Linked DNA regions of Homo sapiens: regions 1, 2, 3 and 4 are each linked to region 5. The links are contacts of gene promoters, found by promoter capture Hi-C in blood cells and fetal thymus (Javierre and others, 2016). All regions are on one chromosome and are shown on one strand. Each heading gives the region's core, a stretch centred on a gene start or on the middle of the fragment in contact. The rest is flanking DNA. Distances are from core to core; before and after follow the strand shown.

Region 1 (5,347 bases), core at 1,338-3,837, 280 kb before region 5:
GTCACCAAGGTAGTAATGAAATCAAGATTTGAAATCCAGTTTGTCTGATGACAAATAATAAGTTTCTCTCACACTGCAGGTACATGAGAAAATATTTTTAATATATCTATATGGTTATAGAATTACAGAAAATGCATATACAAGCAAAAGGCAGTTATGTTTACCAAGCACAGAGAGGGCTTCAGAGTCACACACAATGAACAGTAGCATCTCATGATTCCTAAGAAGGGTAAAGAGCATGCTGGACCTAGGCCCCAGTGTCCCCAAAGCTTTGTACATTGACTATGTGCATTGTCACAGCTTCCTGCATTGCCCAGTTCTCAAGTTTAAACACTGACACTAATAATGGTTTTTGCTGGAGATGGGGATAACACAGAACAGAAGAGATTCCTATGCTCTAGACCAGGAATCAGTAAACATTTTCTGCAAAGAATCAGGTGCTAAATAATTTAAGTTTTGTGGGCAATAAAGTCTCTGTGGCAACTGGTCAACTCTGCTGTTGTAGTGAGGAAGCAGTCGTAGATGACATGTAAACAAATGTGACTATGTTCCAGTCAAACTTTATTTACTAAAACAGGCAGCACAAGCCATAGCTTGTCAACTCCTGATTTAGTCAATGCTAAACCACACTGCCTAGTAGTTGTGATTCCATAAGCCATCACTTTATAGTCATATCTCGTATTTAATCATATGCATTTTGCCATCTACAAAATGATATAATAGGCTACAGCCATGTGACCTTGAGCAAGTCACTTAACTTCTCTGTATCCCAGTTTCTCCATTCATTAAATGAGTAGTCTAACACCTATTCCAAACATTGTTCTGAATATTAAATGAATTAATAAGAGTACCTGCCACATATTAAGTGCTCAAAAATGTTAGCAGTTACAATTATATATAGCTCAGTGTTGTCATCAATTATTAGTTAGAAAGTGACAAAAAGCATCAGCAGGCCTTTTACTATCACAAATCCTGGTGCTCTACCTGCCACACCTTTCTAAGTCACCTCAAGTACAGAAATATACCTGTTTAAAAACTAATAATGGAAGAAACTGCAGGTGAACAATTTTTTAAAAAAAACCTAATAGGCCACACACACACGTACACACATCTTTACAAAAATCACTATCATTTAATGATCATTACTGAAAAAACTGTACAGAGAACTTACCTCTTTTTTCCTCCATGATTTTTACTGAGATGACATTTTTATCCATGGGGTTGGGGTACTAAACAAAAATATATAAAAAAGAATTACCATTAATCTTCTACCAAGGTGAACTATTTAGAAGTAACCACAGCTGTCTGCAGGACTAGTAAATATTTTCCAAGAAACTTCTAAACAAAGCCCAGTTTTGAATCATGGATCTTAATTTTATAACTTGGGCCTAGATAAGTGAGATGCTATCATCATCTTGACTTACATGAAATCTGGGGAAAACCTTCTTTAGATCCAACTAGCCCTGAGGGGGATGAGGTTAAGCTAATCAGTAAATAATAATACTATTAATATTGAACCAGCCTAACATAAATCAAGAGTGTTCTTTGTGCTAGGCACTGTACTAAATGCTTTCCTTGCACAATCTTGTCTAAATCCAACAGCCTCTCTGTTATAACTGATTTATGTGATACCACCATCCCCATCTTTCAGATACGGAAACTGAATGAAGACTGGATTGCTTAGGGTCACCCAGCTGGCTCCTGGTGGAGCCAGGGAATTAAACCAGGCCTGTTTAATACAGAGTGGACCTCTTCACTGTGGTCTAATATCATTGTCTGGTGGCTGGGTTAGCATCACAGTAGCATAGTCATAGAAGTATGCTTTGCTAGGCACATAGTAAATACTCAATAAATATTTAACATGTTAATTTAATTCCCCTGAAAAGCAATTTGGCTGTGACAAGGTTGATAATAGCCACTGCTTTTGTCGTAGGCAATTTAAATACTTTAGATACATTAGCTCAGTTAATTCACAAAACCATTCTATAAGGTATGTGTTATTTTTTCCACTTCATATATGAAAAATAAGGCTTAGACAAATTAGATAATTTGCTCAAATTGTCCAGCTAATGAATAGTGTATCTGGGGGGTAACATAATTTACCCCCGATACTTTCTGCCAGCCTGCAAAGCCTGCCCACCTAACCTACCACCAAATCACCTAAGAGTTAAATTAACACAATCCTTTCCACTACTCAGATGTGAAAAGAGAGACACTGGGAGCAGAAGTGACCTCCTAGAAGCCACAGGACAAGGTAGCTGCTGACCAAAGCCTACTGAGCCCCCTTGGACTCTCTTCCCTGAGGTTTACCGACGTATCATGTGATCAAATCTGAAAAGAAAATTGGCAGGAAGTCTTATCCATGACATCACAAAGTGCTGAGCAGAAGGCAAAAGCAGCAGGCAGGCTGAGGGGAGAAAGAAGAAAGGCCCCTCACTTTGCAAACTTGAGCTTTAAGTTTTCCGAACCCTAGGAAGTGAAATACAAAACTCTGACTGTGGGTCTCCACCCACAGCAGGCGTGTGTGTGTGTGTGTGTGTGTGTGTGTGTGTGTGTGTGATATTGATTTATTAATGGATTTTTCAGGGAAAGGGGTTCATCATTTTAACACATTCTTAAAGATATCTGTGACCCAAAAAGACACTAGATTAGAACACAGGCTCTCTGAGGGCAGGAATACTGTCTATTTCAGTTACTCCTGTATCTCCAACAGCCAGCGTAATGCCTGGCACATAAAAAGCACTCAGTCAATATTTTCTGGATAAATAAAAAATTGGGAATATAAACCTCAATGACCTCAGGGATCAATTTGGAAAATGAGCCTGCCTTCAGTCAGAAACCAATCTATGAAGAGAGCAGTGGCTCAGCTTTCAGCAACCTCAATATCTCTTCATGTTTCATGTTGGTAAACTCTGTCATTCACACTTCCATCCTGGAAACTGAAATCTTGATAACTGATGAAAAACTTGGTTTTTAAAAATCTATTTATTTATATATTCATTCATTCACTCATTTTAGCCCTAGAAAAAAAAATGCTTGGCTGGGCATGGAGGTTCATGCCTGTAATCCCAGCACTTTGGGAGGCTGAGGCGGGTGGATCACTTGAGGTTAGGAGTTTGAGACCAGCCTGCCCAAAATAGTGAAACCCTGTCTCTACTAAAAATACAAAAATTAGCCAGATGTGGTGGTGCATGCCTGTAGTCCCAGCTACTCAGGATGCTGAGGCAGGAGAATTGCTTGAACCTGGGAGGCGGAGGTTGCAGTGAGCCGAGATCATGCCACTGCACTCCAGCCTCGGTGATAGAGTGAGACTCTGTCTCAAAAAAAAAAAAAAAAAAAAAAAAAAAAAAAAAAACTTGGAACTACAGTGATTGCTTTCTTGAAGTTCAGCCCTTCCGAGTTACATGCCCATGACAGAGGGTCAGGTTTAGATACTCTGCTCCTCAGGAAAGGAGACTTTCGCTTACACAGTACCCCTAAAGCAAGGGAGATATTTGAGACTCACACAGGTCCTCTGAATTGTGATTATATGTGTATAAATTATAACTTGTACACTAAAGTAAAATGTGCTTATCTCGTTTACTACAGTTCTAGTTTGTTCATTACATACCCATAAATATATATTGACTGAATATTACAAATTCAACATAAGTTGTAGAAAGATAACTAAACTATAAAAGACGTTGAAAATGTAAACACCAGGGAGACATGATGATCAAATTTTTCAAGTTCTGATTACTTCACTAAGCTATCAGAGAAATTCTTAAACATTATAAACTCAAATACTTCACACTTACATAATTTTTGGAGTTGAACAGCCAAGAGCCTCAAGTTTCCATAGAAGAACAGTAGAAGAAAGTAGGGGTTTATTTGCAATAGCTAACTACCATACTATGAAAGGCACATATTTCAACCTCTTTAAAGATTTATTGAACTGAGGCTCCCCCTACCTGGCATTACTTGAAATGATCTGACGCCATCTTGTGGTAACCTGAATATTCATGTTTTAATTCATGAAAATTTACCAAAACTCCCATGAGAAAAAGTTGAAAGAGGGAAGGCTTCTCAGAGGTCAATACCAGGAACACTTACCTGGGAAGACAGGAGGCAGATGGCCAGGTTTTTCTGGACACCTTTTCAAACACAATCCAGTATGACTGCAGAATTGATCAAGCTGAATCAGGATCACACCCATCAAAGACTTAACTGAGCAGCTACTGTGTTCACGCAGGGTGCTATCCTAGAGAAGCTGCCATGCGCATGATCTCATTCAGTCCTTCTCAAAGCGTGGAAACCTATCAAGTATTAATATACAGAGTATTTCTGCTATAAATATAATAGTGTAAAGCCCGCAGACAAGCAGGTTCACATGGGATTCTTCAATCCCCATTTCATACTAGAGACTCTCATGAAAGCAATGTGATCTGAAGACCCAGATATCTGCCAAAAGCCCTTGTCTTTCTTGATCCTGGCTTAGCTGATCACAAACTGCAGTGTGCAAGAGAACGATCCCACAGGCTGCATACATATGCCATGTATGCTATACTACTTTATGGATGATTTAAGGGATTTTTAAAGGTATATTTGACTTCATTTTGCATTTCCTTATAATTTTTAATTTCTTCACAGAACGTGTAAACTAACTCCTTTTCCTTTCCCGAAGACATGAAACTACTACAAATACCACTGTATATATCATATGTATGTAACAGTCTAACAAGGGTAAAATGTAGACGTGCCTAAAGCTGTTGTATCTGCTTGCTTTAGTTTTTACATATTAAAAGATAAGCCAAGAACTCCATAATATTGGGGGGGAATATGCATTAAAGCAAACACATATATATAAAAAGTTAGAGGCAAGAAACTGAATCCATCTAATTACAGAATATTCAATATGTTTCTGGGAGAAGCTTCATGAAGATATAACATTTTGCATTCATATTTGCCGAGGGAAAAAAAAACCCATAAGCTTTCAGAAAGCCTACTCTTAAAAGAGTTATTAAAATATGAACTTTCCAAAAAGCTCAAAAGCCAATGCCTTTTTTTAATAACATTTGCTTCCCCTCTCAGAAACAGTCAGTGACATCCAAAGGAGTCACTGTCTACCAATTTACAAATGAGGTTACCAGAGAGAGTACAAGGAAGCAGGTGACTGACAGATCTGTCTGAAGAGTCCTTCAAAGAAGGCAAAGAAGACCTACAGTAAGTCTGGTATATTAACATACCCGTGTTATAAGCATTAAGGGAATCTGTTATCTAGGCTGCTGCCAAACATGTACATGCAAAGAGATGGGGCTGCTGAAAAGAGATTTGGTGTTTAGCAGCAGAAAGAAATCACCATGAGCTA
Region 2 (5,136 bases), core at 311-2,810, 340 kb after region 5:
TACAACAGGCGGCCTTTTTGTATGTGGCTTTTTATGTCTGAACAATATTTCATTGTACAGTTATACCATGTTTCTTTTTTTTTTGAGACGGAGTCTCGCTCTGTTGCCCAGGCTGGAGTGCAGTGGCGCGATCTCTGCTCACTGCAAGCTCTGCCTCCGGGGTTCACGCCATTCTCCTGCCACAGCCTCCCGAGTAGCTGGGACTACAGGCGCCCGCCACCACGCCGGGCTATTTGTTTTTAGTAGAGACAGGGTTTCACCGTGTGAGCCAGGATGGTCTTGATCTCCTGACCTCGTGATCCGCCCGTCTAGGCCTCCCAAAGTGCTGGGATTACAGGTTTGGGCCACCGCGCCCGGCCTATACCATGCTTCTTAACCATGCATCAGCTGATGGTCATTGGGTTGTTACAATACTTTTTGGCTATTATGAATATTGCTGCTGTGAACATTTGTGCACATGTTTTTATGTGGATCCAATTATTTAGGCTTACAGTATTTAAGAGTGCTGCTTTGCTACTACGCTGACTGGGGTTAAGACCAGGCTCTGCTATTTAGTAGATGTGTGACCTTGGGCAAGTTACTTAACTTCTCTGTGCCTCAAGCTCATCTACAAACAGTGACTATGTTACCCACCTCCTAGCAATTTTTGAATCTTAAAAGAGTTAACGTACCTGACATACTTAGATCCGGGTTTGCTACATGGTTAGGTCCAAGTAAAATTTATCTATTAGTATTATTTTAATATTTTTACGACTTTAATAAAAGGGCTCATCTTCATTGTGCCTTTGAAACCCCAAATCCAAAACTTTTTTTTTTGTTAATTAGAAAAACTAAATAAATATTCAGAATTGTCTGGTATTCTGGGTGTGCTAATTTCAGACAAGCACATTTTGAGATCGAGGGAGACGTGGTTAAGCTGTAAATTGCAAAGAGGCTTGCCTTCGCCAATTTACCTTTCTTAATGCAGCAACTTATAACACCTATTGGCTTGCAACGGTTTAGTATAATTTGGGAGGTATTCTTGTAATTAATAATATATTATTTAATAACATGGATATAGAGCTGAGTGGTGACTTAAGACTCCTGCTACTGTAAAGCTAGGAAATAGCGGCTTTCCACAGCAACTGTGCAATCGGTTTAGGCGCGGCCCAGGTCGATTTTGATTGGCTTGCCCAGTGGAAATGCTCTCCGCCTGAGCTACTACTGGCCAATATGGCTCCACAATTGGCTCTCCTGGAAGCCGACAGACACGTGGCTACCGCAGGCTGAGCCGAACTTGGGAGGACTTAGTTCTGCTTACCGCGAGAGGGCGCCGGCGGTTCCTCACTGCTAAAATCTCATTTCCCATAAAGCCCCCGAGTCACCAATCAACTGGCTGTCTTCATACCGCTTTCAAAGTCGGCGGGCGCCTTGCCCAATAGCAAAGAACATATCGCCCCCATTTCGAAGATTGATGGAAAGTTTGACCAACCGCATCTCAGACTTCTGCTGTCTCCGCCTCTCTCGTTGGGGATTGACGATTTTTCTAGCCAATAGGAGACGTCGGGTCGGCGGGTGGATGAACGCGGCCCTCTGTAATGGCGGAGCGTGGCGGGGACGGGGGCGAGAGTGAACGATTCAACCCGGGGGAGCTCAGGTAAGGAACGCTGCCCTCCTTCACATCTCTGCTCACGAGAGCCCCAGAGGCTAGACGCTAGACCTGCCATGTGGAGATCCGGGGCGGACGGTGGGTAGCGGAGCCGGGCGGCCCGGGCCGGGACCGCATGGGGTTTAAGAAGGGGGAAGGGGAAGGTGGCTTGAATGAGAGCCGGGCCCGGGCTGGGCCAGGGCCTCCTGCGCGTTCCCTGGCTGCTTCCTAGTGCTTTCTTGGGGCCTCGCCGCCTCTCGCGGCCTGCAGCCCTCTGGCCGGGCGCGGTGCTCCCGCCTTTGGGCCCCGCCTCAGCCGCGTGTCGCCTCCGTCTCGGCCGACCTGAGTCTGTCCCCAGGCCGCGCTCCGCTGCGGGCCTGATTTTCCTCATCGACGTCTCTGCACTCCGCAGTTACTTTCCCTGTACCCCTCGCCACTTCTGGCTAAGCCTTCTCCACGCCCTCCGCGGCTCTTTGGGCTCCCCACGTTTGCCCTTTCATTTCATCCCCCTCATTGCTTGCCTTTCTTAACTTCTGTGGCTTTTCTTCCTTTTTTCATCCCTTTATTCCTTATTATCCTGTAGTTGTGAGTAACAACAACAGTAGCAACCCCTTATTAGGCACTTACCGTGTGCCAGTAAACCCTTTACTTAGGTTTGTCTCATTTAATCCTCACAACCACCCTTTGGAGTAGTTGCTATTAACATTTTGCAGGCCACAGACCAGAGGGGTCTTCAGTTGTTACTCGCCCATCTTACAGGTGAGATAACAGCCTCGTGGAGGTTGAGTCAGTAGAATAAGATTGCATAGGCGGATTTGTGGCTCCAGGAAGTGGCTTGAACTCAGGCAGTCAGGTTTCAGAGCCTGCAATCCCAATTGGCGTTCTATTCGTCTACTACTCATGCCATTTCCTTGAACAGTGCAGTGACCTTTTTTTCCCCTGGAACCTCAGTGTCTATGAGTTTGTAATTAAAATTTGGTAAAATGAGAGTGACCTGGAGAAATCTTTTGGTCAGTGGTTTTTGAGGAAAAGAGGTATTATGCTTTATGTGTATTTGGTACTTTGGTTTTTTTCTGTATGGGAGAAATGGCATTTCAGATGTTCAGCTCCCATTCTGAATTGTGCTGTTGTCAACGTTTGAAAATGAAAAAGAGCAGGGTAGATTATGAAGACTCTGTTGATACTGTCTTGAACTTAAGATGAAATTGTGTAAGGAAATGGGTATTGTTATTCAAGGTTTTAGAAGAGGAAAATGCCTTTCAGATTCTGTATGGTCGCACACACAAATCTCCACTTTGGCAGAAATGAAATTTTGTTTTATTTCAGAGATGAATCTGAAATCCTTTAAACTCCATATGTATACAGTATTAATGAGTGATCAAGGTGAATTGTCAGCATCTTTAAATATTAGCGATGCCAAGTTTATTCCTGATTTCGATCTTAAAGGGAGGTTACTTAGCTAGTTTCAGATGGATTTATTAGGGAACATTCTTTTGCATTTTAGAAAGTATCTTTCTAAAGCTTTAAAAAAATCCAAATGGCTTTATTAATAGTCTAGACACTGTTGCACAACTGATTTGAATAGAGCTTTAATTTGCAAATGAATTTGCCCTGTTGCAAATATTTTATACCGTAGCCTCTTGGATTGGAAGTTGCTTGCAGAGCATACTGTACAGATCTTTATTTTAGCATTTCTCATGAAATTAGGTGTGTATGTGGCCTCTTTGATGGCAGAAGTTGGGGCTTAATTTTTGCATTATATTTGTAACCTGAATGTACTTCATGGTGTGTCTGTCATAACCGCCTGGCAAATGAGATGTTCTGTAGTTATGTTGTAAATAAATGAAGATAGGAGATTTAAAGATACTTCACTTATTGGGCCGACATTTATTGTGTGCTACATGACAGTTGCTGACCTAGGTGCTGGTAATAGTGCCCTGAACCAGACCGAAAAAAGAGGTTTGTCCTGCAGGAGCTTCCAGCTTAAGTAAGAGCCATCTAAATTGTAAATGAAATCAACCACATCAAATGATTAAATCTGCCTGTAAGTGTGAAGTGACTTACACAAGGTCACTGGGTAGTTGGCAGGGTCTGGACTAAACCTCAGGTCTCCTCAATCATAGTTTATACAATTTGCCCCCATATATCGGTAGCATCTTTTTATTTCTTGCCCCTCCAGTTAAAGTATTGTCTTTAGCATTGGGGAGATTGCATATCTGGATAGAGAACTTCTATTGTAGAAAAATACCTTATGTTTGTATTTCCATGATGTTCTTGTGAAATATTTTTGTTCCTTCTATTCATGCAAGTAGGCTTTTGTTTTTCAGAAAGGTTGTAAGTGGTAGGAATGCAAATCACAATAGATGGAAAATTTATAGACGTTCCAAATACCATTAAAGTAACTTCCAGAGTCATTTGTATAGATCCTTTCCCTAGAGCCTTTGTTTACCTATCAATACTTAAGATACTTGCAATCTAAATTTCCTTATCTATAAAATGAGAATAAGAATATTCTGGTGTTATCACTGACTAGCTGCCTTAAGAAAATATTTTTCTGTGCTATCATTTCCTCTGTAAAAATGGTGTCAAACTTACCTTATTGGGCTGTAGTGAGGATTAAGAGTTAATACGGATAATGTCTGTATAACCATGCTGGTATATAGGAACTTTACTATCATTATTAAAACAATAATGTGTTTTAATGTGTTGCAACAGTATACTAAAGGGAACTATATACTAGTGGCTAAAGATAATACAGAAGTAAATGGGAGATTTCTTCATAGCATTTATCATAATCGAAAACTCAAATTAGGAATAATGATCCTGAGAGGGCCTGTAGAGGCCAGAAGTGGGAAAACAGTTTGAGGTGACATTTGAACTAGAGGCTGAGTAATGAGAAGGAGCTAGTTATGTGAAAATCTGGGGAAGAACATGCTCGGCAAAGAGAACAGGTGCAGAGGCTTCAAAGTAATAAACTTGAAATATTTAAAGGAAAAGACTAGAATTTGTGGAAAGGTTAATGTGGGCCAGGTTATACAGGGCCTGATATAATAATTATAGTAATAATAGCTAACATTACTAATATTAATATTATTTAACACTTACCAGTACTATTACTGTCCTAATGTTACAGAAACAGTAATGATAGCTAATAACTTAGATAGCACTTACATACTAAGCACTATTCCAAGTACTTTATTAGCTCATTTAATCCTCATTGCAGGTTCTGGTGAGGTTGTTGTGATGAAGCAGTATAATATAAAGAGCCCAGCCCATGTTCTGTGCGTAATTAACATCAGAAAATGGCAACTTCAGGCTATTCAAAAAAGGAAATTATGTGAATTTTGTCACCATTTTAGTGGCAGACTTTTGAAAACCATAACAAATTAATAATGAAATGCCTTTTACAGATAAACACTGCTAGGTTTTGTGGGGGAATGAAAGTAATGATAGTTGAAGTAGTTTACTGTGTACCAGCTACCACCCTAAATGTTTCACCGGGATTATCT
Region 3 (5,059 bases), core at 2,195-4,694, 290 kb after region 5:
AGCTGCTTAGCAAAGCAGCTAGAAGAGAAGACTAGATGACATCTCCAGACCTGCATTGATTCTATGAATTCATGAAAAGCTTGCCAAATTTGGGATCTGGCTGATTCAACAAAGTGCTTTTAATCTACTTCTATGTGATAAGATTATATGCACATTATAAAAATGTGCATTATTAAAAGATGAATAGCTTAAATTCTGAGAGGAATTATTATAATTTTCCTTTACATATATCTTGGACTACTATGTTTCCTGTTTTCACTTCATCATACTCAATGAAAATCATCTACCTACTCTGAACTTGTATCCCTGCAGCTGAATGTGCTGGAGAAAATCCCACAACCACATTGGCAGGTCTTACCTTAAAAGGATGGCTTTGAAGCTCAAGTGTCTCCTTATGCTGCCAAGCAACCTCTTATTTGCCCTGGTTTCATTCACTCTCCTATAGCTGAGGCAACTATTTTACACATTTTTCTCTCCAAGTCTCCAACGTCTTCTCTGCAATCCTCATTTTTAACTGGTGAGTCAGTTTTATACTTCATCAAAAAAGCCGAAGCAATCAGCAACCAAACCTAAACCTCTCATTTTCCTCCACCTACTCTGCCTTCCTGTTATTGTTGATGAACTTTCCATACACTATCTAAGCTGATTCCTTTCCTTTTGAACTAAATCCTTTTCTTTCTCACCTACTTCAAGACATAACTCCAGCAAATCTGTCCTTTCTCCCCATATAATCAATTTTTTACTCTCTACAACACATTTTTTGCTCTGTTGTTCCTACCTTACAAAAACCTTCACTTGACTCCATTCTCCCTGCCAGCTGCTACCCTAATCCTTTGCTTCCCCTTTCATCAAAACTTCTCAAGAGTTGTCTGTGCTTCCTGTCTTCAATTTATCTTCTGTCAGTTTTCTCTTTTTAAAAAAATTTTGTTTTCAAAAAATAGAGATCAGGTCTTGCTCTGTCGCCCAGTCTGGTCTTGAACTCCTGGGCTCAGTAATCCTCCTGCCTCGGCTTCCCAAAGTGTTGGGATTACAGGTGTGCGCCACCGCATCCAGTCTCTCAATCTCTCTTGAACCCAATTCAGTCAAGTTCCTTCCAAACTGCTCTCATCCTGTTTACTGATAACCTCCACTTGGCTAAAGCCAATGGTTAATAATCAGTCCTCATCATTCTAAACCCATAAGCAGCATTTGACCAATGGATGCCTCCTTTCTCTTTGGTAAACTTTTTCATTTTGTTTTCAGGATAACACATTCTCTTTATTTTCTTCTGTCTCACTGCTTAATCCTTCACAGTCTCCTTCTCTGGTTCCTCCTCTTCTCTCCAAGCTCTTAACTGCAGTGTCCTGGGCTCAGTCCCTGCACCTCTTCTCCATCTACACACACTTTATTGGTCATCTCATCATGCCCCATCTCAATTCTGTTGACTCACACATCTTCATTTCCAGTCTTCATCTCCCTCCTGAATTTAAGACTTATATATCCAACTGCTGATTCAACATCTCCATTTGGGTGTCTAATAGACACTTGAGACTTAATGGGTCCAAGGCTGAACTCCCAGTCATCCTCACTAAACCTGCCCTAGCCCAGCCATCCTTTCCCATCTCACTGTATTGTAATTCCATCCTTCTAGTTGCTGAGGCCAAAACCCGTAGTGTTATTCTTCACTCCAATTCATCAGCAAATCCTGTTAGCTCTGTCTTCAAAATATATCTGCCCACTTCTTACACCTCCACGGTTACCACCCTAATCCAGGATATTGTCATTTCTTACAATAGCCACCTAACAAATAGGTTCCCTTGCTTCTACCCTTGCCCCTCTTTGTTCTGTTCTCAACAGAGCAGCTAATAGAAGTCAGAGTATGTCTCAAAATCATTGCTCAGAACCATTCCCTCAGGGTAAACACTGAAGTCTTTGCAGTGGCCCACAAGGCCCTGCGTGGACTGGATTCTTGCCCACTCTCTGACTTCATCTTCTACTCCTCTTCCCTGCTCATGGCATTCAAGACACTGGCTTCCCTGATGTTATGTGAACATGCCAGGCCACTGTGCCTTAGGATCTTTGCTGTGGCTCTTCCTTCTGCCTGGAATGCTCTTCCCACAGGCATCTATTTGCCTATCTCTGTCACTTCCCTTAAATCTGTGCTCAAATCTCACCCCCTCCCCTTCTGAACATCCTCTATAACATTCCCCAGGCCCAGCACTCATACTTTTTACCCTGCTTACCTTTGTGTTTTTAAAAAAACAAAACATCACTTTCTAATTTACTTATCCTTTTTACAGTCTATTTTCTGACTGTTTGTGGATTTATATTCTACAAAAGCAGGGAATTTTGCTTTCAGATATAATTTTCCCAAGCCTCTAGAATGAATAGGATTTCTCATCTTTGACACTACTGACCTCTGGGCTGCATAACTCTTTGACATAGGAGGCTGTTCTGTGCATTGTAGGATGTTTAGCAGCATCCATGACCTCTAACCACTAGCTGCCAGTAGCACACCGCCTCCTAGTTGTGACAACCAAAACTGTCTCCAGACATTGCCCCATGTCCCCTGGGGGGCGCAAATAGTCCCCAGTTGAGAACAACTTTTCTAAAAGAGTGTCTGCCACTAGCAGACATTCAATAATTATTTGTTGAAGGAATGAAAAAAGAATGAGCAATTTTTAGGTACCTTTATTCTTCATGTATTCCCCCAGCATTCATCACTTACCACAGTCATCACCAGGAGCAGCTCTCAATCTAAAGAAGTGAAAGGCTAAATCTCAGGCATTCGTAGGATACAATGGCTCTCTCTATTATTGTTTTGTGAAAGACAACATGTAGGGGAGAAAGATATGATGGGAAGGGTAGTAAAATAAAATCAGGATAAAGACACTCTGAGAGGCATGCCACCTAGCAAGGTATTGCTTATGAGAATTGTGTGGATTTGCTCAATAAGATTTGTAGACCTTGAGACAATAAGCTTTCTTTCACACTGCTTCCTTTCTGTTTTACAGCCATTGTTCTTCCCCAACACACCTATGGATCAGTTTGAGGTTTCAACATTTGTTTATCTCCAAAGATAGTTGTAATAAAAATAACATTAATAATAAGAATGGTGTTTGTTGAACACTTACTGTGTCAGGCCCTAGGCAGTATCATTTAACTCATAACAACCTTTTGGGGCAGTTCCTACTGTTAGCACCCGTTCTACATATGAAGAAACGAAGGCTCAGAAAGGTTAAGTAATTTGTTCAAGGGAGCACAGCTAGTAAATGTCCAAGGCAGCACAGCTAGGATTGAGAATGAGCTAGAATGACATAGTAATGAGTATATAATATATATAATATTACTCATATATAACAGGTATAGCATAAGTAATATAGTGACAATCACAAGACTTGTGCAGAAGCCAGTCTCATTAATTAATAGCCACGTATGCCATCTGAGGCTATCACTTCTTTTCCACGGTCAGAAAATACATAGCACATTATTATAAAGACAATAATAATGGAAGACTTTTGCTGGTTCTTTGATTTGAATGCTCTTTTTTATTTTTAAACAAAAAGTACTCTATAGGAAAGAATGAAGCCATTAGTGCTGTTCAGTGAAAAGACTTAGTGGACTTTAGCATGATTTCACACATAAGGAAAGGCTGTCACTGCCAAAGAGTATTTTTCCTAAAGAATGTTTCCAGGGCCCAAGAGTCCTTTAAGCTAAAGTACTTATTTGTTGATTCATTGTTTTTTATGCTGAAAGGTACATCAGATACATGGTACAAAATGCAGAAGAAAGGAAATGATCTAGAGTGAAGAATAAGTGTCCCCTCCTCTGCTGCCTCCCAGCAACCCAGCTCCTCTTTCTAGAGGCAATTCTTGTCTCCAGTTCCACATGAGTCCTCGCAGGCCAGTGCTTAAAGAAGCATATAGAGGACTTCAGGGCTTCATCTGTAGAAAGCTTCCCTGTTTCCAGAGCATGTCCACATGCATTTTCTCATCTGAACTTCTCAGCAAACACCCCAAATGCATGAAAGAAATTTGTTGATAAACTCCATGCTTGTCCCCTTCATGTGATTCATCCAGGGTCCTAAGATGAGGACTGGCATTTAACCTCTGGAAAGTACGTGGAGCCCCTATTTTCATTCTCAATTGCATTGTTTAACAAGGTCTGACCTTTCTCTTGCAAGTTGCTGCAATCTCTTCACCCTTTTGCAAAAATCTGATCACAAAATGCCCCATGGGCATTAAGTCATAAAATCCAAATAAAATGGGTAAGACTTGACGATGTCGGCTTAAAAAAAAAAAAGTAGTGATCGTTGAATTTCCTTTCACATGCATGTTTCTCCCCTCCTTTGCTGGGCTCAGATGCCAGCTGTACGTTGCCATGGTCTGAAGAAGGACCTGTGGGTCTCCCCTGGCAGATGCTGCCACTGTTTTAGCCTGAGGGCCCTGCAGGCAGCCCCTGGCAACATTTTTAATTCAACATCAAACTGCAACTTGAAATTTGAAAAAGTGGGGGAAAAATGACAAGATGTCAATGTCTCAGAACCTAGCAAGTGGGGCTTGTAAATATACCCGATTTGGATTTCTTTGAGCTGGGGGAAGTTTCTCATTTTTTGTAGCCACTGGGAGTGACTGAACCCCATCAAAGAGACCTTAAAGGATGCTGAAAGAGCTCAAAGGGGATGCTATGTCTCAAGAAGAGAGCTCCAGACCTGGTCAGAGAGCCTTTTAAATAAGTCAGGTGGCAAGCTGGCCAGGACACATTCTTAAGTCAAAAAGGCAGATTGTAAAACAATAAAGGTCCCATCTTTTGGGGGAAAAAATATGTGTGTGAATGCACACCAAGAAGTTTGGAAGGCAATACTCTGTAATATTTAAAATCTCTTCTTATATCTTTATTGTCTGAACTTTTTGTTTACAAAGATCCTATATATTACTTTTAGAACGAGAAAAAAATACGGTTTGTATAAAATTTGAAAATAAAAAAGATAACAAAGCTGAGTTCCTATTCCCTCAGTACCCACAGGCTCCTGGAACAGAACGTAGCAAGTCCACCATTGCCCAGGCAGCTTGGCTGAGTG
Region 4 (5,280 bases), core at 259-2,758, 320 kb after region 5:
CGTATCAGGGATAACACTCTTTCCCATAATCCGCCCCCCAGCCCCGCAAAAGTTCCCTTACCTCTCAGCGCTCTTACAAACCAATGATGTATTCACCACCTGAGGTTGTTCACCTGAACAAACCTGATGAGGAGGGTGGTTGCTGAGTGGGCAGCCAGCGGTGTTGGCCACAGGAGCCAACCAGACTCCCCCCGCTCAGGAAACTAAGCCTAGAAACGCAACTTGTGTGTGCTGTTAGCAGTCCAGCTGATGGTGAATGGACAAGAAGTTGAGGACATGAGCCATGGATAAGCCAAGGTTAAGACAAAAGAAAACACCATCTCTATCCCTGTAGTGATAGAGGGTGAGAAAGCCATTTGGTAGGGAAAGTGAAATAGAGCACATGGTCTGAGTCAGTGAAGCTGCCCTTAGGGTTAGAAATGGCTCCCCCAGCTGCCTGGATCCCTGATGTTTTCTGGTTAAGATTTCAGTTCCAGGCCACATAGAATGGACTAGTCAGAACTCCTTATTGGCCAGTAACAGAACAAAATACTGCCCTGGCATCAAAGAGGAATTAGTTTAAAATGTTCAGGAATGTCTTACTATCTAAGGCAAGAATTGTAGGAAGTGTAGCCAGGCCTTAGAAAGTGCTAGCACCAGGTGGCTTCTCTTTGACTCTTGTCTCTGTGTTTCTCTACTGAGCATTTTATTCTTATCTCTGCAGTAGATAAGCAAATATCTTCGCATCTGGTCTCCAATGTTATTATCATACATCCACCCACATCTCCTGAATTCTCATTAAAGTTTTGACGCTGCTGAGAGCCCATGTGGTAGACAGTCCCTCGGTCCTACTTTCAAATTCCCAGAGGAGAGAAGCTGAGAAGCCTAAGTTGGGTCAGATGTCCAATCTGTCAAGTCCATGGGCTTCAGGTCACAACAGATAAATAGTGGGTAAGGAGGAGGAGTATTAGGAGAAAGGGGTCACTGATGTAAGGCCGCAAAGATATCCCAACGGCATCCACTATGATCCCCTTAAAGTACTGGTTCTCAAGGTTGGGGGTAGGAATTCCTCCCCACCCCCACTTTTGGCAATGTCTGGAGGCATTTTTGGTTATTACAGCTTGGGGGGTGGATGCTACTTCCATCTAATGGGTAGAGGCCGGGGTGTTGCGAAACATCCTAGAATGCTCCTATGACAGAAAATTACTTTGTCCAAAATCTCAATAGTACTGAGGTTGAGAAATCATGCTCCCCTTTTGATCCTGTAATGGGCCTTTCCACCAAATGGAGCATCGGTATTCACAGAGCACAAACCCATGCCTAATATGTAGGAGGACTCTTAAATATTTGCTGGACAGAAGGTGAGTGAAAATACCATTCTAAAACAGGGTGGACACTGATTCTACTTCTGATTACCCAGGTTCAGGGTGTACTCTGGGTGAAGCCACCATGGGAGCGCACAAAGGCAGGGAATGGTGAAATTCTTGCCTTGGGGAGTGGAAGGTAGGGGTGTGTAGAACAGAAGATGGAATAAGCAGAAACAGATGCAAATAGAAGACAGAACCATAAACCCACGCACAACTTGCTCTTGCAAGTGCTCACAACACAAGTAGCAGCTGCTTCTCTGGTACCTGCCCCTCCTACACACCATAAGGGAGAGCTGCCGAGCCTTAAGTCCTAAACAGCTGTAGGATATGATATAAGCATCTTTCCCCCCAGTAATTCGTCGGGCAGGCAGGTACAGGCTCCAGGCCACTGGGGTTTCTTTTTTGGTTTAGTAGATACATGTGCTTTCATTTCTTAAGGAACATTGTCAGCCTGAAATCTTAGAAAAACAAAAACACCTGTAAATAATTCAGAGTGAAGACAACTCCAGAAATAAGGAGAGGGAAGAGTTTGTAAGGCTGAGTATTTTCCTAAAACTCCTGACAACCAGAGTCTACTACTGGGCAAAGGAGAATAAGTTTTCTGGCAGAAACGCCAGAAAAGTTAGATAATGCAAAGTCTTTGCTGCCCTCTACTGATGAAAATGAAGACTAACGTGTGGTTTGAGAGGAGAGAGGTTTTTCAATTACCATTCCATTTTTTCATTTACTTTTTCAACACCTATTTACTCAGCTTATACTTGGTGCAGGTGATGTGCAAAGCATTGAGTACAGTAGCAAAAATTACAGAGCAGGTGCTTGTTCTCATGAAACTTACAATCTGCCAAAGGAAACCAATTTTGTATGTCAACAAACAGGAAACATTTTAAGGTTGTTGAAAGTGCTCTGAACGTTAACAGGCTAATGTGGAGATGTGTGGGTGGGGGAGACGGGGTACAGGGGGATGGCAGGCAATTTAAGAATGGAAGGTTGTGACAACGCCAGCTGTGCCAGGAGAGGCCAAGAGCTTTTCATGCAGAGAGAGAAGTGGGTGTAAACTCCAGAGACAGAAAAGTGCTCCCTGGGTCCTTGAACTCCGTGCAGGAGCAGAGGGCTGTGTGGAGAGGCCAGAGAAGTGGGCAAGTACCAGTTCACAGAGGGTCCCAGTATTTTGCCCAGGAGCTGGGATTTTGTTTGGGATACATTTTATTCAGAAGAGGAAGCTATTGAGCATTTGCTATTTTTGTCTTTCAAGGACTATTTTTTTTAATAGTACATACTCGCTACAGGGTATCAATAAAGATTTTTTTTTCCCAGAAATATCAGAAAGTTTAAAAAGTGCATACATTAAATAACTATATTAACATCTAGAGAAGCCGGGCGCAGTGGCTCACGCCTGTAATCCCAGCATTTTGGGAGGCCGAGGTGCGTGGATCACTTGGGGTCAGGAGTTCAAGACCTGCCCGGACAACATGGTGAAACCCTGTCTTTACTAAAAATACAAAAACTAGCTGAGCGTGGTGCCACGCACCTGTAGTCTCAGTTGATCCAGAGGCTGAAACACGAAGATTGCTTGCACCTCGGAGGCGGAGGTTGCAGTGAGCCAAGATCGCACCACTGCACTCCAAGCTGACTGACAGAGCGAGACTCCATCTCAAAACAAAACAAAAATCATCTAGAGGATTATTTTGTCTTCTGTGTGGATGATGGACAGTAGGGCAGCGGGGCAAGAGGAGGAGACAGAGCCAGGTGGTGCTGTGTGGGAGTCAAGCTGGGAAGATGGACAGAAATGAATGGATATGAGGTGGCTTTGGTGGTCTCACCTTCAGGACCCTCTGGTGGGTTGGATGTGGAGGACAGTGACACGGAGAGAGCTGCCAAGGCTGTGAGGACAAGAAAATCAGCTATGACACACGTTTGAAGAGCAGTGGCACCTGCAGGCTCCATCCCTGGCTCTTTGCTGGCCAGTGGGCCAGGGCCATTTGCCTGCCCACCATGCTCTCTCCTCCTGCCTAGTCTGGGTGATTACACCTGACAGGGTTCAGAGAGGCATCCCTCATAAAAATGGCCATAAAGCCGTTTGCTAATACGAAGCCTCCCATAAATGTCAGGTGATGAGAATTACAGCCCCGCAGGCTCATAAAAGAGCATGTCATGGCTTGAGGAAGCCACAGCGACGGTGAGGGCACCAGACTGTCTTTCCAAGCTGTATTTTAGTTTCGGGGAAGATATGACTGGAGGAAGTGCAGTGCTGGCTGAGGCCAAAGTGGCTCAGAACCTTAAGTGAAAGGCCCAGTTATGAAACCTGTCAGCAAAGCTTCCGTCCCGTGGCCCAGGGCTTCTTCAAGGTGAAGTGGAATGTATTCTGAACTTGTAGAACTTAGCCAGGAGGAGTAGGGGCATTAGTGAACCTGGCCTCAGGCAGCCTCTGATTCCGGGGAATAAACAACATACTGTTTCCTACTTTTTCCAATCCTTGACCCACCTGTCAGCTAATTAGTACATAGCCCAGGTGTTCTCTCTGCCTTGAGCTGCTCCCCTGCTTACCATCTGTCTAGCAATCCTTTGATGCACCCCATATGTCTCACAGCCCTGACCCCCCAACCTCTTTCTTTCTCTCCCTTTATTTTTTTTCTCTCTCTTTCATGTCCAGTCAACATTCAGCTAAAAATCGCTGGTATCCTATAATAAACATGACATTGTGCTGGGATTCTGGAAACCAGGCTGGGGGCAAAGAAACATGATATGAAGACCCCATCCAGAAGAAGTTACACATCTAGGACAGGCAGCTAGGTGAGTAACTTCTTCTGAGAGCACATCCACACTTAAAAAGTAAAACAATAGTAAATAATTGTGGCCAATATCAATATTGAAGGCTGATTGCATGCCAGGTACCTGCCAAGGGCATTAGCTCTTGTGGTCCTCCTGATAACCTGTTGAGGTGAGTACTACTATGATTCTCATGTTGAGATCAAGAGGCTGAGGCTGGGGAGGTGGGGACCTTTGCAGGGCGACATAGCCTGTGACCTTTTTAAATGCAGGTTGGCATGATCCTGAAGCCTGTATGCCGCTCGGCTCTGGCACATCAACCAGGATAAACTGAGGCTCCTAATAGTATGGGCATATCCTGCATGCTGCTCCACTTCTGGGGCCACTCTGCCTTTTGCTCGCTCTTAACTTTTCTTCCACACACACCACACATACATGTGCACACACACACATCTTGATCCATAATCCCATCCTGACCCCTATCCTTTGGATCCTAATGACATTTTGACATTGAATAAAAATTATGCAAAATTATTGCCTGCTCATTGAGAGAGCAATTTCAGGAACAAACACCAATAACCCCAATAAATTCCAATAAACTCAACATAATAATTAGCCTTAATAAATAATAAACACCAATATATTTTTGAATCAATTTTTATATTACATAACGTTGTTTTAATTTTGGGGATTAATTCTTTTTGGTTTCCTAAAGTGGTTTCTTTTCTTTTTTTTTGAAACAGGGTCTCACTCTGTCGCCCATGCTGGAGTACAGTGGCATGATCACGACTCACTGCAGCCTCAACCTCCTAGGCTTAATTGATCCTCCCAACTCAGCCTCCCAAGAAATAGCTGGGACCCCAGGCGCGTGCCACATGCCAGGCTAATTTTTGTATTTTTTGTAGCGATGGGGTTTCACCATGTTGTCCCGGCTGGTCTGAAACTCCTGGGCTCAAGTGATTCACCCACCTCGGCCTCCCAAAGTGCTGGGATTACAGGCATGAACCACTGTGCTTGCCCTAAAGTTATGTCTGGCAGTTCTTTATGTAAATTTTAGAGTGAAAATTTAATCATCAAGAGTTCTGTCTGCATCAAATTGTACCAATTTTAGGTATTATTTGTGTGAGGTTTCTTCAGTGACTTATTTTTACCAGATCCAATTTTCCTG
Region 5 (5,216 bases), core at 1,809-4,308:
TATCAGACTCAAGTAGCTCCTGTAGCTTCCTAGACAGCTTTTCTACATATTACGCCCAGGGAATCTTCTGCTACCATGAAGAACAGGAATGAGTATGCAAACAGTGGATGAAGCTTATGGCCACAAAGCTCTGCTAAACCAGAGAAGATGCTCATTTACCTATCAAATTCCATAAGTTCTTCATTTAGTAGAAAAAGCAAACATTTTCATTTCAGACACAAAAAAGTTCAAATAGTCACATTCTAGTTGTGACATCTTAGAAAATACAACTTGTCACAACCCTCAGCTCTGGCCTCCTCCTCCATAAAATTGGATTTAAAATATCCTAGCTCCTCAGTTGCCAGAGTATTAAACAAGATCATGTATGTACCTGACACGTAGTATGCATGAAGTCGATGGCCACTGTTATTATTCTAACTTCAGGATCCTGTGTATGCTCTAGGGCATTCTGTATACTTTTCTCAGAAACAAAGGAAGGAGAAAGGAGAACTGGACCAGGTTTTCAGTTGTCATATGTGCTACCCAAATGCCTTAAAATTCAGTCAGAGTGATGGCCAGGCACGGTGATGCACACCTATAATCCCAGCCACAAGGGAGACTGAGGTGACAGGATTGCTTAAATCCATGAGCAAGACTCCCATCTCTTCTTTCTTTTTTTGAGACAGAGTTTTGCTTTTGTCGCCCAGGCTGGAGTGCAGTAGTGTGATCTTGGTTCACTGCAATCTCTGCCTCCAGGGTTCAACCAATTCTCCTGCCTCAGCCCCCCTAATAGCTGGGATTACAGGCATGCACCACCACGCCCAGCTAATTCTGTATTTTTAGTAAAGACAGGGTTTCACCATGTTGGCTAGGCTGGTCTCGAATTCCTGACTTCAGGTGATCTGCCCACCTCAGCCTCCCAAAGTGCTAAGATTACAGGTATGAGCCACTGCGCCTGGCCTCAGACCCCATCTCTTAAAAAAAAAAGATTCAGTCAGGGTAACCAACCATTCCAGTTGGCCCAGGACCAAGGGTTTTCCCAGGATAGGGAAGTTTTAGTGCTAAAACCAGTACAGTTCCAGGCAAACCAAGATGGTTGGTGATCCTAACCCTCAGAAGGTGAGGGAGGCTTTAACTCAGGAGGCAGGAGGCTAACTCCTGTTAAAGTTTGATGGATGAGATACATACTTTTCCCTCTTTTTGACCTCACTCCATTCCTCTTCCTCTTCTAGCACAAGCCCTACCATGTCTCCCACATGCCTGGTTCTTCAGCCTGGGGTGTTACATGTCACTCTTCCGTAATCACACTTGGAGTATTGTGAAATCATTCTGCCTTGTACCTAGGCCTCCTTGATTATTTCAAACTCAGCTGAAGCCAAAACCCTTGAGTTTTCATTTCAAAAGGGTGGAAATGATTGGCAGTCTCTAAAAATAAAGTTCCACTTGGTCAGGGTTCAACATTTTAAGAATAAAGAGATACCATTTCACCCAAGCCAGCCCTTTTCTTGTCACCAGCCAAGAAAGGCCAGAAGGAACAAATCAGTTGCCCTCTTTTCAAGTTTGCATGGAGAAAAGATAGCAACCACTTTCTTCCCAAGCCCAGTTTTCTTTTCCCTGGTTCCTTATAAGTAGAGGTTGATTCGATAGTCCAACTAAAGAGCAAAAGCTAGGGGAAAAACTCACCCTATTCCCTACCTCAAGTTGGAAATAAAATGTTCATCTTCAGATGACATGTGTGACAACAGAGGTGAGTATATGTTGAGTAAGGAAAGATCCTCAGGACACCTGAAGAAGTTACTTCCAAACCAATTCATAGTGAGAAGTGTTTTCTTGTCCTTTGGGCTATCCTTTTTCCCTTTGGCAATAAGCTGGTTTCTAAACTTCGGATTAGTCCAAAGTGAAACATCTCTTGAAAGAATGTTCCCTTAATATTCTGGAACCTGAGGTCATAGCAGTGTAACTAACAGACATCTTTTTTCTTTAAAAACAGGTATACACCTAACTGTGGACACATTCATCTTACTAATCTGTAGGGAGATATTGCTGGAGTATAGAGTAAATAGAAGAAAAAGACTTATCTTTGGTGGAAAACTCTTTAAGAGATGCCTCTAGTAAACATTTATCTAGCTAAGTGCCACTTGACCGTTCCTTGGAAGATTCAGAAGGCTGAAAATTTCTGCCATGCCATGTGACTGAGAAGCAGCAGAGACCTCTCTTCATCCCCTGAACTGCTGGTCCAATTCAGCCAGATGATGCAAGTCCCATAGCCAACCCAAAAGCAGGAGCAAAAAAAAGTCTTTCAGCGCAGGTATTGTATTTGAATCCATCTTATGAAAGGTGGTCTCCTCAAGTTTGAGCTATGGTAGATTGTCACAAGCCTCAAAGCCTTTTCAGAACTTCTAGAAATTCTCTGCTCTTCCATTAACTTCATTGATAATGCCAGGAAAGTGGCATTTCTTTCCTACCCAGTCCAGACGGAATCTAGTAACTGAAGCAAGGCTTGCCTGGTGATGTCCTCACAACAGCTCTGAATCCTCAAGGTCTCAGGAGCCTCTGAATCATGCCTCTGGCACATGTCTTATGGAGGTGTGGACCCTAGAAATATTAGGAAATATCCTAAGACAAAAAATTAGGCAAAATTTCACGTTGAGGAAAGGGCTCTGCAATCATAATTTGACATTACATTAGAAAGACATCAGGAGGATACTGCCAATTATATCATATATTCTTTTCATCAGACCCATAGAGAATGGTTGCTTAGGGTTCTGAACTTCAAAGCATTTATTGAACCAGGTTGTTAGGAAAAGCCTATAATACCTTCCAAATCAAGATTCCTCAGACATAGCTTCATAACTGCCTTCAATCATGGGGTTCTGGGCAACTGTCATTGTCTTCTTAACAGTAAGGATGTACCCTACATTAAGGACAGGTATGTTTTTTCTGCTTACTACTCTATTCCAAGTGCTGACCACAGTGTCTGGCACATAAAAAGCACTCAATAATTTGTTGAATAAATGTGCCCTACATGAAAATTCAGGTTTATAAGAATAACAGAAATTAAGAGGTGATTACTAGCTTTGCAAAAAAAAAAAAAAAAAAAAAAAAAGATTTACAGTAAGATTCCTTTGAAGAGTAAACCACCATGGTACATATAAGCTATGACTCCATATTTTTACATTTCATTTGCGCCCAACTTTTCTAATCAAACGTCTATTGTATGAAGTGACTAATCCACATGCTACACAGCTTTTTCATTTAAAAATAAAATGAAAAGAATAGAAAAGGCATGTGCTTTATAAAAGAATGCCAAATATTTATGAAAAAGAAATAATAGCATTAGAATATCACCATTTTGCATAGCCCCAGCATAACAACATATCAGGAAGGAAATTCAGAAGCATTAAAACCATTAGATAAAAAAGATTAGGAACCAAATATTCTCAAGGTGCAAAAATATAACTATTCCACATATTTCTAATTGCAAAAGAGAAAATGTACCTTAACTATGAAAAATTCCAGAAGTACTCAAAATGCATATTTACATTGGAAAGTTCTGAAAGTGTAAGAAAAAAAAAGTACCCTTACAATAAAAGCTCTGGGTGTGATTTTAACAAATATGCCTTTACATCAGAAGGTCCTAGAAGTGATCAAAATGTATCTTTAACATTACCCTTCACCCTTCCTCCATGATTGTAGGTTCCTGAGGCCTCCCCAGCCATGCCTCCTGTATAGCCTGTGGAACTGAGTCAATTAAAACTCTTTTTTAAATAAATTACCCAGTCTCAGGTAGTTTTTTATAGCAGTATAAAAACACACTAGGCCAGATGCAGTGGCTCACACCTGTAATCCCAGCACTTTGGGAGGCTGAGACGGGCAGATCATCTGAGGTCAGGAGTTTCAGACCAGCCTGGCCAACGTGGTGAAACCCCATCTCTACTTAAAAATACAAAAATTAGCCAGGCGTGGTGGCAGGCACTGTAATCCCAGCTACTCAGGAGGCTGAGGCAAGAGGATCGCTTGAACCTGGAAGGCAGAGGTTGCAGTGAGCCAAGATCATTCGACTGCACTCCAGTCTAGATGACAGAGCAAGATTCTGTCTCAAAAAAAAAAAAAAGAAAAAGAAAAGAAAACACACTAATACAAGCTCTATGCACAGCAGAGGGCCATTACAAATCTTATTGATGCTGTAAATTTTGGGGTGAAGTATTTTCTACCTGACTGGGGTCCATATAAACTTCTCCTTTCTCTGACCTCCTAATGGCCCTGGTAACACTGGCCTTGGTCAAATACATTCCTGTTTTCCATGCACGAATTCTTTGTTGTCTAAGTGCAATGAAGATGGAGGCCAGGGCTCTAATTCAACTCTGCTGCTAATACATAGGATCTTGAGCCAGTGACTTTGACCTGTTTCTTCATGTGGCTTCCTTGCTATTCCTTCAGCACACCAGCTACATGCCCCTGCCTCAGGGCAAAAAATGCTTTTGACCACATACGTGCTAACAAAACTACATATGCATTTACCCTCAGACCCACAAGCCCACTTCTACAAATTTACTCTGAAGATATACCTCCACAAAAGTGAAATGACATTATTCATGAGGTTACTCACTATATCATTCCATACACATTCTATAAAATATTAAAAACTTAGAAACAACCTATATGTCCATCCATGGAGACTGGTTGAATAAACTAAGGTACACCTTTACAATAGTATTACATGAGCAAGGAAAGAAGAGGGGCAAAAGAGGAAGGAGGGAAGAAAAAGGAAGAGAAAAAAAGATTTTTTCTTTTTTTTTTTTTTTTTTTTGTGATGGAGTCTCGCTCTGTCGCCCAGGCTGGAGTGCAGTGGTGCGATCTCGGCTCACTGCAAGCTCCGCCTCCCGGGTTCACACCATTCTCCTGCCTCAGCCTCCCGAGTAGCTGGGACTATAGACACCCGCCACCACGCCCGGCTAATTTCTTTTGTATTTTTAGTAGAGATGGGGTTTCACCATGTTAGCCAGGATGGTCTTGATCTCCTGACCTTGTGATCCACCTGCCTTGGCCTCCAAAAGTGCTGGGATTACAGGCGTGAGCCACCACACCTGGCAGATTTTTTTCTTTTTAAAGAGCATGATCACAGCTCACTGCAGTCTTGAACTCCTAGACTCAAGTGATCCACCTGCCTCAGCCTCCCAAGTAACTGGGACTACAGGTATGAACCACTACAACTGGCTAATTTGAAAAAAAAAATT

Evidence for each region. Contacts are between HindIII fragments. The CHiCAGO score rates a contact against its expected background, and 5 or more counts as called.
Region 1: a contact is called between a fragment that was not itself captured here and the fragment with the promoter of PLAC8L1 in region 5, in 1 of 17 cell types (erythroblasts). The highest score is 5.4, in erythroblasts.
Region 2: the fragment with the promoter of TCERG1 here is called in contact with the fragment with the promoter of PLAC8L1 in region 5 in 5 of 17 cell types (activated CD4 T cells, non-activated CD4 T cells, total CD4 T cells and 2 more); the score reaches 7.7 in activated CD4 T cells.
Region 3: a contact is called between a fragment that was not itself captured here and the fragment with the promoter of PLAC8L1 in region 5, in 1 of 17 cell types (non-activated CD4 T cells). The highest score is 5.4, in non-activated CD4 T cells.
Region 4: a contact is called between a fragment that was not itself captured here and the fragment with the promoter of PLAC8L1 in region 5, in 3 of 17 cell types (activated CD4 T cells, total B cells and non-activated CD4 T cells). The highest score is 6.6, in activated CD4 T cells.

The regions. Positions count from the first base shown.
Region 1 is chr5:145,821,906-145,827,252 of GRCh38, forward strand. It overlaps PRELID2 (PRELI domain containing 2), which reads right to left. Exons shown (of 7, transcript NM_205846.3): 2 at 1,172-1,229. Among named protein-coding and RNA genes, the nearest start is that of PRELID2, 11 kb to the right of the region's middle. The HindIII fragment of the contact is 4,641 bases long and covers 268-4,908 here.
Region 2 is chr5:146,445,773-146,450,908 of GRCh38, forward strand. TCERG1 (transcription elongation regulator 1) reads left to right here and starts at 1,561. Exons shown (of 23, transcript NM_001382548.1): 1 at 1,561-1,636. The coding sequence starts at 1,578. RefSeq lists an enhancer at 1,224-1,931 and a silencer at 1,850-1,929. The HindIII fragment of the contact is 4,342 bases long and covers 1-3,146 here.
Region 3 is chr5:146,388,159-146,393,217 of GRCh38, forward strand. No RefSeq gene overlaps it. Among named protein-coding and RNA genes, the nearest start is that of POU4F3, 52 kb to the left of the region's middle. The HindIII fragment of the contact is 974 bases long and covers 2,958-3,931 here.
Region 4 is chr5:146,425,353-146,430,632 of GRCh38, forward strand. No RefSeq gene overlaps it. Among named protein-coding and RNA genes, the nearest start is that of TCERG1, 19 kb to the right of the region's middle. The HindIII fragment of the contact is 4,299 bases long and covers 1-3,658 here.
Region 5 is chr5:146,102,519-146,107,734 of GRCh38, forward strand. It overlaps PLAC8L1 (PLAC8 like 1), which reads right to left and starts at 3,059. Exons shown (of 4, transcript NM_001029869.3): 1 at 1,675-3,059. The coding sequence starts at 1,793. RefSeq lists a silencer at 1,154-1,354. The HindIII fragment of the contact is 7,482 bases long and covers 112-5,216 here.